Linked DNA regions of Homo sapiens: region 2 is linked to region 1. Evidence: promoter capture Hi-C in human tissues and cell types (Jung and others, 2019). All regions are on one chromosome and are shown on one strand. Each heading gives the region's core, a stretch centred on a gene start or on the middle of the fragment in contact. The rest is flanking DNA. Distances are from core to core; before and after follow the strand shown. Region 1 holds the start of DERA (deoxyribose-phosphate aldolase). Region 2 overlaps EPS8 (EGFR pathway substrate 8, signaling adaptor).

What was found. The method cuts DNA at HindIII sites, captures the fragments that hold promoters and counts their contacts. A contact is called where the count stands out against the background at its distance.
Region 2: a contact is called between a fragment that was not itself captured here and the fragment with the promoter of DERA in region 1, in 1 of the 25 tissues and cell types used here (H1 embryonic stem cells).

What each region holds. Positions count from the first base shown.
Region 1 is chr12:15,909,200-15,915,086 of GRCh38, reverse strand. It overlaps DERA (deoxyribose-phosphate aldolase), which reads right to left and starts at 3,755. Exons shown (of 9, transcript NM_015954.4): 1 at 3,673-3,755. The coding sequence starts at 3,703. RefSeq lists enhancers at 2,577-3,320, 3,321-4,065 and silencers at 3,468-3,817, 3,838-3,897. The HindIII fragment of the contact is 4,741 bases long and covers 2,018-5,887 here.
Region 2 is chr12:15,771,640-15,777,526 of GRCh38, reverse strand. All of the region lies in intron 1 of EPS8 (EGFR pathway substrate 8, signaling adaptor), which reads left to right. Among named protein-coding and RNA genes, the nearest start is that of EPS8, 15 kb to the left of the region's middle. The HindIII fragment of the contact is 3,863 bases long and covers 1,751-5,613 here.

The DNA.
Region 1 (5,887 bases), core at 2,506-5,005:
CTTGTACCCCCAGCCTAGGGTAATACTACCCAGTACAGATTGGTACTCAATAACTACCTAAATAAATGTGCTTCTTAAAATAAAAAAATCCCACCAACCTGGCCAACATGGCAAAAACCCGTCTCTACTAAAAATATAAAAATATTAGCCGGGCTTGGTGGCAGGCACCTGTAATCTCAGCTACTCGGGAGGCTGAGGCAGGAGGATTGCTTGAACCTGGGAGACGGAGGTTGCAGTGAGCCAAGATCACACCACCGCACTCCAGCCTGGGCAACAGAGGGAGACTCTGTCTCGAAAAAAAATACAAAATCCCATCATGGTTATTTTTCAGATATCTTTGAAATGTTGCTTTTTGAACAGAAGAGTTTTCAGACACACAGAGACAGAGCAGGGAGATCCTTAGAAGTCATCTAATAACACCCGCATTCTCCAGACGCCTCCAAAGATAACATTTGCAAGGAAGTTACACTATCTACATCCTTTATAGGCTTCTTGAGATAGCTCTGAAGACGGATGTAACAAAACTGAATCTTAATAATACTTACAAAGAGGAAGAAGGTGCCAAGCTTCACAGCATCTGTCCATGCAACCATACACGGGGACCAGGTAGATTCCCCAGTTCCCCCAAGTAAGAAGCAGCTCTCAATTCATTCCTTCATTCAACAGACTTTTTCTTTTTTTTTTTTTTTTTTTATCTTTTTTGAGACACAGTCTGTCTCCAGTCTGTTGCCCAATGGAGTGCAGTGGCACAATTCCAGCTCACTGCAACCTCCACTCTCTGGGTTCAAGCGATTCTCGTACCTCAGCTTCCCAAGTAGCTGGGACTACAGGCATGCGCCACTATGCCCAGCTAATTTTTGTATTTTTAGTAGAGATAGGGTTTTGCCATGTTGGCCAGGCTGGTCTCCAACTTCTGATCTCAAGTGATCCGGCTGCCTTGAGCCTCCCAAAGTGCCAGGACTATAGGCATGAGCCACCATGCCCAGCCTCAAGACATTTTTGAGGGCCTTCTGTGTACCAAACACTATTCTAGGTACTTGGGACACATCAGTGAACAAAAGAAAGATCACTACCCACGTGACACCTGCATTTTAGGCAATAGTTAAGTGGCATCTAATAAAATAGAAGAATATCTGTACATTTTAATAGACTATATAGGGCATAATAGTCTAGGTACAAAACTTGATAGTACCTTGGAGATCATTAAGCCATTGGTTCTCAAACTTGGGTATGCTTCAGTACTACCCACAGGATTTGTTAAAACTCAGAATGCTGGGCCCCATCCTCTAATATGAAAGCTAGAGGGTACATTCCCTATTTGGAAAACATCTTTCATACATCCAAATGCCAATGTTTTCCTTAAAGACTTTTTAATCATGAGGGTCAGGTTTAGTCTCAAAGGAACTCAATGTTTTTTTAAGTCCATGAACTAGAAGTACATACACCAAATCATAAATAACAGTGATTGGACTAGTAATAATATTACAACATTTTTGTGCTAACTGTATTTTCTAGAATTTTTACAATAACCATGAATTCCTTTTGTAATAAGAAAAGGGAAGCAAAAATGTTAATTTATTTTAGAAATTAGTTACGATGTTTATTAAAAAGACTTTCAATTAGAAAACTATTTTAAAAATCATCAGTTAATATACTGCATAAATTAATACTGAAAGATTTTTTTCCCTAGTACCTAATTCAAATAACTTATTTTAGCATTTCAGTTTAAACCTGTTTGGATTAAGGATTAATACCCGTGAAGGAAAAAAATCTGATTTTAACAAATAAGATAATAAATACAAAGCTATGATCATTTCGATAGCTGCATAAAAACCACATTTACTATTGTTCTACCTGGCAATTATTTATGTCTATTACTTTTCAACAAATGAATGGAAGTGATTGATTCTAATTACTGCAAATAAATAAATTTAAAAATGGTTCAATTATGTTTTTTGAAAGAAAAATTTAAAATGTCTAAGTTTTGGGAAATTTAGGGCACATCCTTGATGTATGCATAGTCACATGGTCATATTCCTGGGAATACCCAGGTAAGACACCACCCCAAACCTGCCCCATATCCACCACCTTCAAGGATATTCCAATCTAAGAAATAATGCCGTTATTACTAAAGACCACGTTCCAGAGATAGGACTAGAGTTTAAAACATAATCAGCTAGAGGACAGTGACTAAAACAAAATCAACCAGGTTAGTAAATCAACTGTCTTTAAAATGATAGATTTACTCTCTTACCATTCGACAAAAAATCCAGAACACCTCTTGGAAGTGCAGACTGTTTAAGTACCAGTCACTTTTAAGGAGGGCGAAAAGGACCTACCTGTATGTGTTACATATAATTTACAGCCAATTTTCTCAAAATTAGCCCCTAAAACCATAACTCCATATACTAATACTATCTATACTGAAGACTTACTAGGTGTCCACAATATACCAAACTACTTTACATGTATCCTATTTAATCTCCTAACGGCCTTATAAGGTAACTACCACTAAAATAACCATTTTACAGATGAAGAAACTTAAGCGCAAAGTTATTAATTTGTCCGAAGTCACACAGGTAAGAAGTTAAAGATCCTGGATACACAGATATCCAAGCTATAATACTTAAACGAGACGCTTAAACCTTCTCTTGATCATGGTTTTGCTGTTTGAATTATAAATTTTTCACATGTTAAGAAATCTGAAGAAAAATTCTCTTCTGCCTTGGGATCCTGTTGATCTGTGACCTTATCCCCAACCCTGTGCTCTCTGAAACATGTGCTGTGTCCACTCAGGGTTAAATGGATTAAGGGCGGTGCAAGATGTGCTTTGTTAAACAGATGCTTGAAGGCAGCATGCTCGTTAAGAGTCATCACCACTCCCTAATCTTAAGTACCCAGGGACACAAACACTGCGGAAGGCCGCAGGGTCCTCTGCCTAGGAAAACCAGAGACCTTTGTTCACTTGTTTATCAGCTGACCTTCCCTCCACTACTGTCCTATGACCCTGCCAAATCCCCCTCTGCGAGAAACACCCAAGAATGATCAATAAAAAAAAAAAAAAAAGAAATCTGAACTAAGGTTTCTTGCCAGTATTTGAACAATATAAAAAAAGATGAAAACTGGGAAATAATACAGGTACTTTAACAAATCTTTGTAACTCTAAAATCCCATGAATCTGCAGTGTTACATTTTGAGCACAGACGGCTGACAACTTTTCCACGAGCACGGCCACTTCAAGGTTACGGTTAAAATTATCTACGGAAATACTGCATTAAATTACACAAGTATTCTATTAAAAGGAGGAGAAAGAAGGTTTTTATCTGTTTTTACCTGCTTGGGGGTTGTTTGTTTTGGGTTTTGTTTTTTGGGTTGTTGGGTTTTCCAACCAGCGAGCTAGAGTGAACGAAAAGGCAGGAAGATAATAATCTAACCCTTTCCTACTCCTTCCGCATACAAGAGTAAAAGCTTAGGTGCAAAGACAAGCGGCGCGAACGTGCCGGGTTCGGCCTTTACTTGGGGTGAGGGCTGACCAGACGCCACTGCTTCCCGCCCCAGCGAAAACCCCTCGGGGACCCACAGCCAGGGCACTGGGCGGCAGCAGGCCCCGCGCTAGTCCCGGCGGCGCTGAACGCGAGGGAGAGGGGATGGGGAGCCCCGCGGGCCCCTTACCGAGCTCGGTGCCCCGATTGTGCGCGGACATGGCGCGGGCAGCTCCGGAGCTGCCGGCTGGTAGGCGCCCGCCTCTGCGCCGCGCCCGGCCCTTCCTCCTTCCCGCCAGCTGGAGCGCTCGCCCCGCCCCTGCCCGCTCCCGGGGCGGAGTCGCGGGCCCGGGCTACGAGGTCTGTACCCTAGGAATATTGCTCCGCAAGGAAATCTCGCTGCTCCCCTCCCCCGTCTTCTCCACGAGGTACCGAACCGGAGCGCTAAGTAGCTCCCGGAAATAATGCTACCAACACCCTTTAAAAAATACTGAAGTTGCCAATTGCACGTAATAAAAATATTCCTAGAAACTTTTAACTGTAAGATTATATAACAAGAAGGAAGAAGATCCAAGTGCAGAGCTCTGCAACTTAAGGTCTGAAATGTCAGCAGGGATCCCATATCCTTGTTAGGGAAACCAAGGTGCAATCAAGGGCCCCGGGGCACACTGACTTTTCTAATCTACACATCATGAAAAGAAGCAGCTATGTGGCCTGAAGAAGGCAAGGGCTTAGGAGTCAGAAGACCTGGTTTCTTAGCCAAGCTCGGGCAATAATTAAATGTGTGACCCTGGGCAAATTAACTGCTTTTCCGAGCTTCATTTTTCTCATCTGTAAAAGAAGACCTTGACAATTTCTTGGTTCTTCAAAATACTATGATTCTATAAAGGTAAAATGCTTCAGCCTGATTTCTCTGTGACCAAGAGGTTAAAATCGTCGAGTCACTCCACAATCTCAATATAGTTAACTTATCTGTACTCACGTTTAGAGGCACCTCTGCTATGAAAACAGTACAGTTAGTTATGATTTGTCTACCATGAGCCAGTTATTGTGCTAGGTGCTTTCATACATCATATATAGATGTATGATAGCATTTGAGTCTCTGAACAATCCTGCCAATAATGTATTTTATCTCCATTGCTGTAACTTTAGACATCAAAGTTCTGAATAGAAAGGCATCCTGGTATAGGGGAAATACAGTGAGCTCAAAATGAGCTGAACCCATTAATATACCAGCTCTTCCATTTAATAAATGTAACTTGGCAGTTCTGGAAATAATAGTCTGTCTACTTACCTGTAAAGTGGAGATGATCAAAATATGTTCACCTTGCAAAGCTGTTGAATGTATGCAAGGCACCTAGTACATAACATGGCATACAGTAGATACTTAAAAAATGGAAGCTGTTAATGTTATTGTCAAGTTCACACAGTAATTACTGAGCTGTTTTAAATAGGAATAGTAATATTTGTATACTCCTCTACATTGAGCTTTCAGCCTTGTCCACACACAGCCACTGTTGAATGTTTCGGATGTGTGTAGATCTTACTCATACATACTATAGCACTTTTCTTTTTTATATTAACCTTGAAAAAGAGAAAAGCAGGCCCTGAAAGCCTGGAGCTGGCCTGAAACTCACAACTGGACCATGGTTTTCCCTGGTTAAACGTATACAATTTCACAGCACAGCATCAGCCAAGGCCATTGTGACCACAATGAATCAACAAAAACATAATCATAATCATGTCTGATAATAGAAAACCATGAATATTGTTCAAATAGCCCCTATCCTAGCTATTATGACTTCTTTACCAATCAGTTCTAGCTTCACTCCATTCCTATGTTTTAGATAAGAATTAAGATGCACTACTATCACCAGTTCCTACCATCATCCAGTCCAGATCCTTCCTTGAACTTTCCCCAAATCACCTACGACAGGCCCAAATCCTATGTAGTTTCTAACATCCTCTTACTGAGACACCTCACATTAGGTGCCCATGGCAAGCATTCTCCCTTGTTACAATGTCAATAAACACAACTTTGTCCACTTGTAGGTGTGTTACTGGTGGTCTCTGGCTGGAGATCATTCACATCTCTAGAAGATACAAAGGCAATACATGAAATTCTATTTTTAGAAGTAAACACAACTCCAAACCAGATTCCATACCATTCATTACATAAATGTTTGTTTGTTTGTTTTTAAATTGTGATATCCTAAATTAGTTGAAAAATCAGAATTAGGGCAGCCTCTTAAAGCAATGTTTTAGCAATGTATCAGTCAAGAATTTCTCAAGGACTTTTTCTAAAATGGACCTGTTGAATGTATTAATCTCAAATTAATCTCTGCAGTTTAAAAGTATGTTAATTTGGCAACATTAGGAGAGACAGCAGGGATAGTATGCAAAAA
Region 2 (5,887 bases), core at 2,433-4,932, 140 kb after region 1:
GATTGAAGCCTTCATCGCCTTTACCTTATTTGGGTACTAAGTAAGTGATTTTGGAAATAGTAAAATCTCATTATGAAAAGAGTGAAATCTAGTCCGGAATAAATGTGTTAACAGTGCTTAACTTTAACTGGAATGCATCTTAACACCATTCAGTTTTTATACTGATTAGAAAGGTCCACTGTGGTTTTGGTCATATATTAGAACATATGCTGTTGGTTTTTTGTTTTGTTTTGTGTGTGTGTGTGTGTTTTTTTTCATTCTGCTTTGTAAGTACCCCTTATCACTGTAGGGAATTTTAGAATTTGAATTAAAATATATCTTGAGTTATATAATGTAAAAAAAAAATTTATATAGGCTACTCCATGGCATTGTAAAGAATCTTAAAATAGATATAAAAGTGACTTCATCTTACCTCCAATGTCCTTCCTCCATCTATATCTGTTATCTCTAGCTATTTTCATCTTTTCTCTCTGCCAGGCAGTTAGTAGAATAGTTGAAGAATGATTTTATCAGCTCTCATTGGACTACAGGATAAAAGACCTAAAAATATGGGATAATTTAATCCAATGGCTAGCAAATACATTTTGTGTTATGTTTATGGTTTTCAAAGGCATTGATAAAATCAAACTATCATTACTGGGAAATATGAAATTTTCAATAAGATTCCAAACTAATAGATAAAGTGATAAAATGATTGGGAAAACAAGTGGTGGTAGAATCTGATATAAAAATAGTTTGGCGGTAGCAAAAGGGGAAACGCTAAAATTCTCAAGAACCCATCAGCCATTTTTACTAACACTGTGCTCTTCATAAGCTATATCTAGGGAACTTTGATTATATGCTGTAAGGAACAATATATTATTTAAGTGTATATTGAATAAGTATTCAATAAATAACTGCAAAATAAAAGACAGTTCTGAATGTGGAAATTCCTATTCTTGCGAGATTGAGCCAGACATTTCTAGCTAACATTGACGTTATTGGGCTAACGTGGGCATCATTTGGGTTTTGGGTATTAGGTGTAACAAATGCTTGCTGATGCATAGAGGCCAATCTAGGTCTGTGTTAGTTCCTGAGAGTGTGCATGTGAACTTGAGGGGAAGGTTTTTAGAGTAGGTCACTCACCTAAGCCAGCTGTTTTTTTCTCTCTTCCAAAAGAGTACCGGATTGCTCCTTTGCAGGGGCTGACTTGAGAACATGGCTTAACTTTTAAGGCTAGATAAACTAGTTCAGCCAGAAGTGTATTATTTCCCCCCAAAATTACATTTAAAAGCTTCTAGCTATGATCATTTCAGCTGCTTCTTCCTCCCTTTCTAATTATTCTTGCTATTTCTGTTACTGATATCAACCATACCAATCACTGGAAAGGAGAATACTTGGGCAAAAATTTCTTTTAAAAGAAAAATTGCTGGAGAGAAATATGTACACAAATTTATATTGAATATATAATAAAATACATATGGAACTGCCCTTTGTATGTGAAGGTGAGTTTTGTTTGTTGTAGTGGTGTCAGATCTGGTTTGATTCATTTCAGCTTTTTCCAGTGTTCTTTCTTGTGATACGCATATATGAGATAGGAATTTTGCTAAATCATTAGCAGGCCCATTGGCTTAATGTAACCCAATCTAGTTTCTTGATCTAACAGTCCTGGAATATACAACTTTACCTAATAGAAAATAATTTTGTTTCAGTTAATGAAATTTATCTGTCAATAAAGAAATATTAAATAAGTGCCTATTAAGTGCTAGTACTAAATAATGAGAATACTCTAATTGACAAGATAGACAACATTCTTATCCTTGTGGACTGCGTGATGTTAGACACCTAAATGAAAAGAAGCATAAAAACTTAACAGAAGCATCAGGTTCTAGGTAAGGGCTCAAAAATCTGGAAAATAAAGGCTAATCTTTTTTGCTTTTCTCGCCCTCTTTCCTTAATATAGATTCACATTTTTTCCTATTCAAATGTAATGATATTCACATTTTGTATTGTTTTTCTACATATACTGGTACTGTGGATTTATAAAATAAGTCTATTTCCAAATTACATGTATTTTACAATGATTCCACAAAGGAACGTTGGCTATTTATGAGCTTTGGGGAAAATTACAGTATATCAGTACTCCCTTTGAAAGATTTTAAACTATTAAGGTCAATTTAAGATCAGACCAGACAAGTGTGGTTTGTGTCATTTTTATATACGGTATTCAGTATTTTTTCCTGCAAGCTTTTGGGAGTGAAGAAGCCATTATTCATAAAATGAATTCATATGTAACACCTTAGGCTGATCGTAAAGTGTTAAACCTTAGAGATGGGGAAAATTCTATTGTCTTGAATTTTGAATGTGGGTAACTTTAAGACTGCCATATGAATTGCCAAGTTGCAAAATTGTTTTTGCATTTCACTTGCAAGCAAGGAAAATGTGGACTCCTTCTTTAGTGGGGCCAAGCGCATTCTAACACACCTCTCAAATTACACACCACTGAAATGATACTCACAATGGGTTTGGCTCATATGTTTCTAGTTAGCTACTATGAATGAAAGATTCATAACTATCTGTTTCAAAAAACTTCCTTATTTGCACTGCAGGGAGCTTAATTGTTTGGTAGCAGGGTCAAGAATTGCTTTTAAATACTAAGCATGCATGGATTGGGCCATTATACACTGAACTAAAAAAAAGATTTCTGTGCACAAAGAAGGCTTTAGATAAATATTTGTCAAATCATTGATTACTTTGTTGGCTGTGGAAGAATAAAAGTCCCTGAGTTTTCCCACCCTGTTGGTAATTTGGACCAAATATTTTGGTCACTATTTTTTATATATATATATATTTATATATTTATATGTTTAAAATATATATATGTGTGTATATATATTTTATATGTATGTATGTATATTTATATTTATATATGTATATATATTTTATATGTGTACATATATATTTATATGTGTATATATATATATATGTATATGTATAACAAACCTGTAACCTTTCCCTTACCTTGCCTATTGAGCATTGTAGAATACAGGATAACAGGGAGGAAGAAGTCATTCATACTTACTAGACAGATGGTTGGCGTCCCTGTGGCAACCTTGTGATCTAATAATTTTCCAAGTTCTGTCTACCTAACTGAAGAGTAATAGCTGTTTACTGTTTGCTTAAATAACACTAGGCCTGTATGCAAGTTGCAGGGGGGGTGGGGTGAAGGAGGGGGGTAGATATATAAATTCATCTCTGCAGTTTTATCAAATCTGTAAAAGAGGTGTAGCATACAGGCACCTCTTTTCCAAAAGAAAAAATTCATTAGTTCCTCATTTTGGTTATTCCTTCTTATTCGTGGCTCAAGCAAACCATTACCAGAGAATCTTTTTTTTTTAATTGATGACACGCTAAAAATTAGTTATTTTTGAAGAATTTTTTTCAAAGGTAGTATTTGAATATATTGGTAAAAGATGGTGGAATTATTTTCCTGCTTTTCTGCAGTAAATTAGTTTGTACACTTCTGGTGACATTTGCTCGACTATCCAAAGAAGATGAGGCTGTTAAAGAAATTTTAACAAATATTTATGAATGCATGAAATTGATTATGTTTATTAAAGTCACAAAAAATTTCTAGCCTTTATTATAAATTTTATAAATTGCTACTGCAAAAATGAGAGAGAATTATAGTTACCAATGTGAATTACTTTTGTTTGGTCAGACATTGACTTCCCCTGATTGCCACCTTGTCACTCTGTTTACTAGACACAGATAGGAACTTCTTTCTTCTTCCTATGATATGCATTTGATTCATGTCATATGCTGTCAAAATAATGTTGTCCTGAGATTATTTGCTGGAATGATAAAACTGATGCAGACTATGTCAGCTAGACTTGTTAATATCACATTATTCTTTCTAATAAGTACTTGTACTTAGAATACTTACTTGCTTCTGCTGCATCATGTCTCTCTTCTTATCCCCAATGCTTTTTTTTTTTCTTAAATCTCTCTCCATAGTCTCTTGAAGGGGCTGATAAACACAGTTCTAAAATATTTCATGTATCTATCTCCCTTTAACACATAATTTGGTCCTGTGCATATGTTTAATACCAGGGTATCCCCATTCATTTCCTCCTTCTTCTGAGGATGATTGAAATTTTGTGGCTTCATGATTGCCTTCTAATTTTCAACTTGACTTAAACCAGAGCATAGTAAAAGAACCATTAATAATCACAATTAATAACATTAGAATGTAATTTTAATAATTCAGGCCTCTATTGCAAAATGTATTATGGAGTCAGTTTAAAATGTGATTCTTCTCTCTCTTATATGTACCTATGTCCAAGTGTGTATATAGTAAGCTCTTGGAGTTCAGGTGTGTCTTGGTGAGGTATTCTGCATATATGGAACATAGTCTCTTAACATCCTTTTGCTGCTGCCTTATTTCTGTCTTGTTTCCACCTAAGATTCTTGAAGAGAAGCTTAATGTCTATGGTTTCCTCTTCACTTCTCCTACATCAGCGAGCCCACTGTGGTCTGATGCTGAGCTTATGTCTGTAGGTCATCTGCCATCTTCTAAAAGCTAAACCAAAAGGAAAATGTTTAGTTTTTACTTGATTTTGCTGTAGCATTTACCTGTAAACTCTTTGAGGACATAAACTGTGTCTCGTTCACTATGAATTTTTACCATTTAGGGTTTCTGGTACTTTGTAGACCCGTCTATTTGCTGAATGAATGTATGTTTGTAATGATTTTTGCCTTCTTTTAAATAAAAAGAATATTCTCTTCCTTTGGCTCCTGTGGTGGTGCTGTTCTTTCCTGGTTAACATCTACCTCTGCTTTGTTACCCATCTACACTTAGATGTTGATTCAGAAGCTCTGCTACTTGGGATGGAATAGGTATCCAAAATTCTTCCTAAGTGAAACTCTCAAGTAAGTTCTAGCACCATCTGTTGGCAGCAGTGAGAGCCAATGCTTTATTTATTTATTTATTTATTTTGTGCCTCAGTTCATGGTTTTGTGTATTCTCAGAACACTCACAAGTTGAAAAGTTTCTGGATTTTCTGGAATTATTTTCTTAGCCTTCATCTCATTTCATGTTACAGCCTAAGTTTCATTCTCTTTCTAGGGAACCTCAGTGTTTCGTTTAGAACAGTTACTCTCAGTTCTTCAGGTGATGCCTTTCTTGGGAACTCTAACTCTATTTATGACTGAAGCTGAATATCACACAGGCCCCTCAGACTTCACATTTCCCAAAATTAATTTCTTGCTTTTACTCTGGCCCCCTCATCTCTTTCTGTCTCTCTACTTGGAGTGACTTTTATCCAAATGACAACCTTAGAAATCTGAATTTTTCCTGGACTCTTTTTCTTACCCACCTTTCTGCCCCACCTATATGTCAACAGTCATTAAATCTTTTTGAGTCAGCAAATGGCTGATAGAGCACTCTCCTCTTCCGTCTCTCACTGCTAATCATGTTAACTACCTTGCTTAAAACTCTTCAGTGGTTCCCCATATGCTCATTAGGGTGGTACAAATGAAGACTACGGGCGCCCGCCACTATGCCCTGCTAATTTTTTGTATTTTTAGTAGAGACGGGGTTTCACCGCATTAGCCAGGATGGTCTCGATCTCCTGACCTCGTGATCCACCCACCTCGGCCTCCCAAAGTGCTGTGATTACAGGCATGAGCCACCGCCCCCGGCCTTCCCCTTTCTTTTGTATTGAAATTAGCTCTCAATACTGCCACAAAGAATTCTTTGTAATGAGTTAGCCACAAAAATAGTTCAGTTCTAGGAAGAATTTCTTTTCTTTTTCTTTTCTTTTTTTTTTTAAGAGACAGTCTTGTTCTGTTACCCAGGCTGGAGTGCAGTGCAATCCTACGGAGAATTTCTAGCCCATTAGAAGAA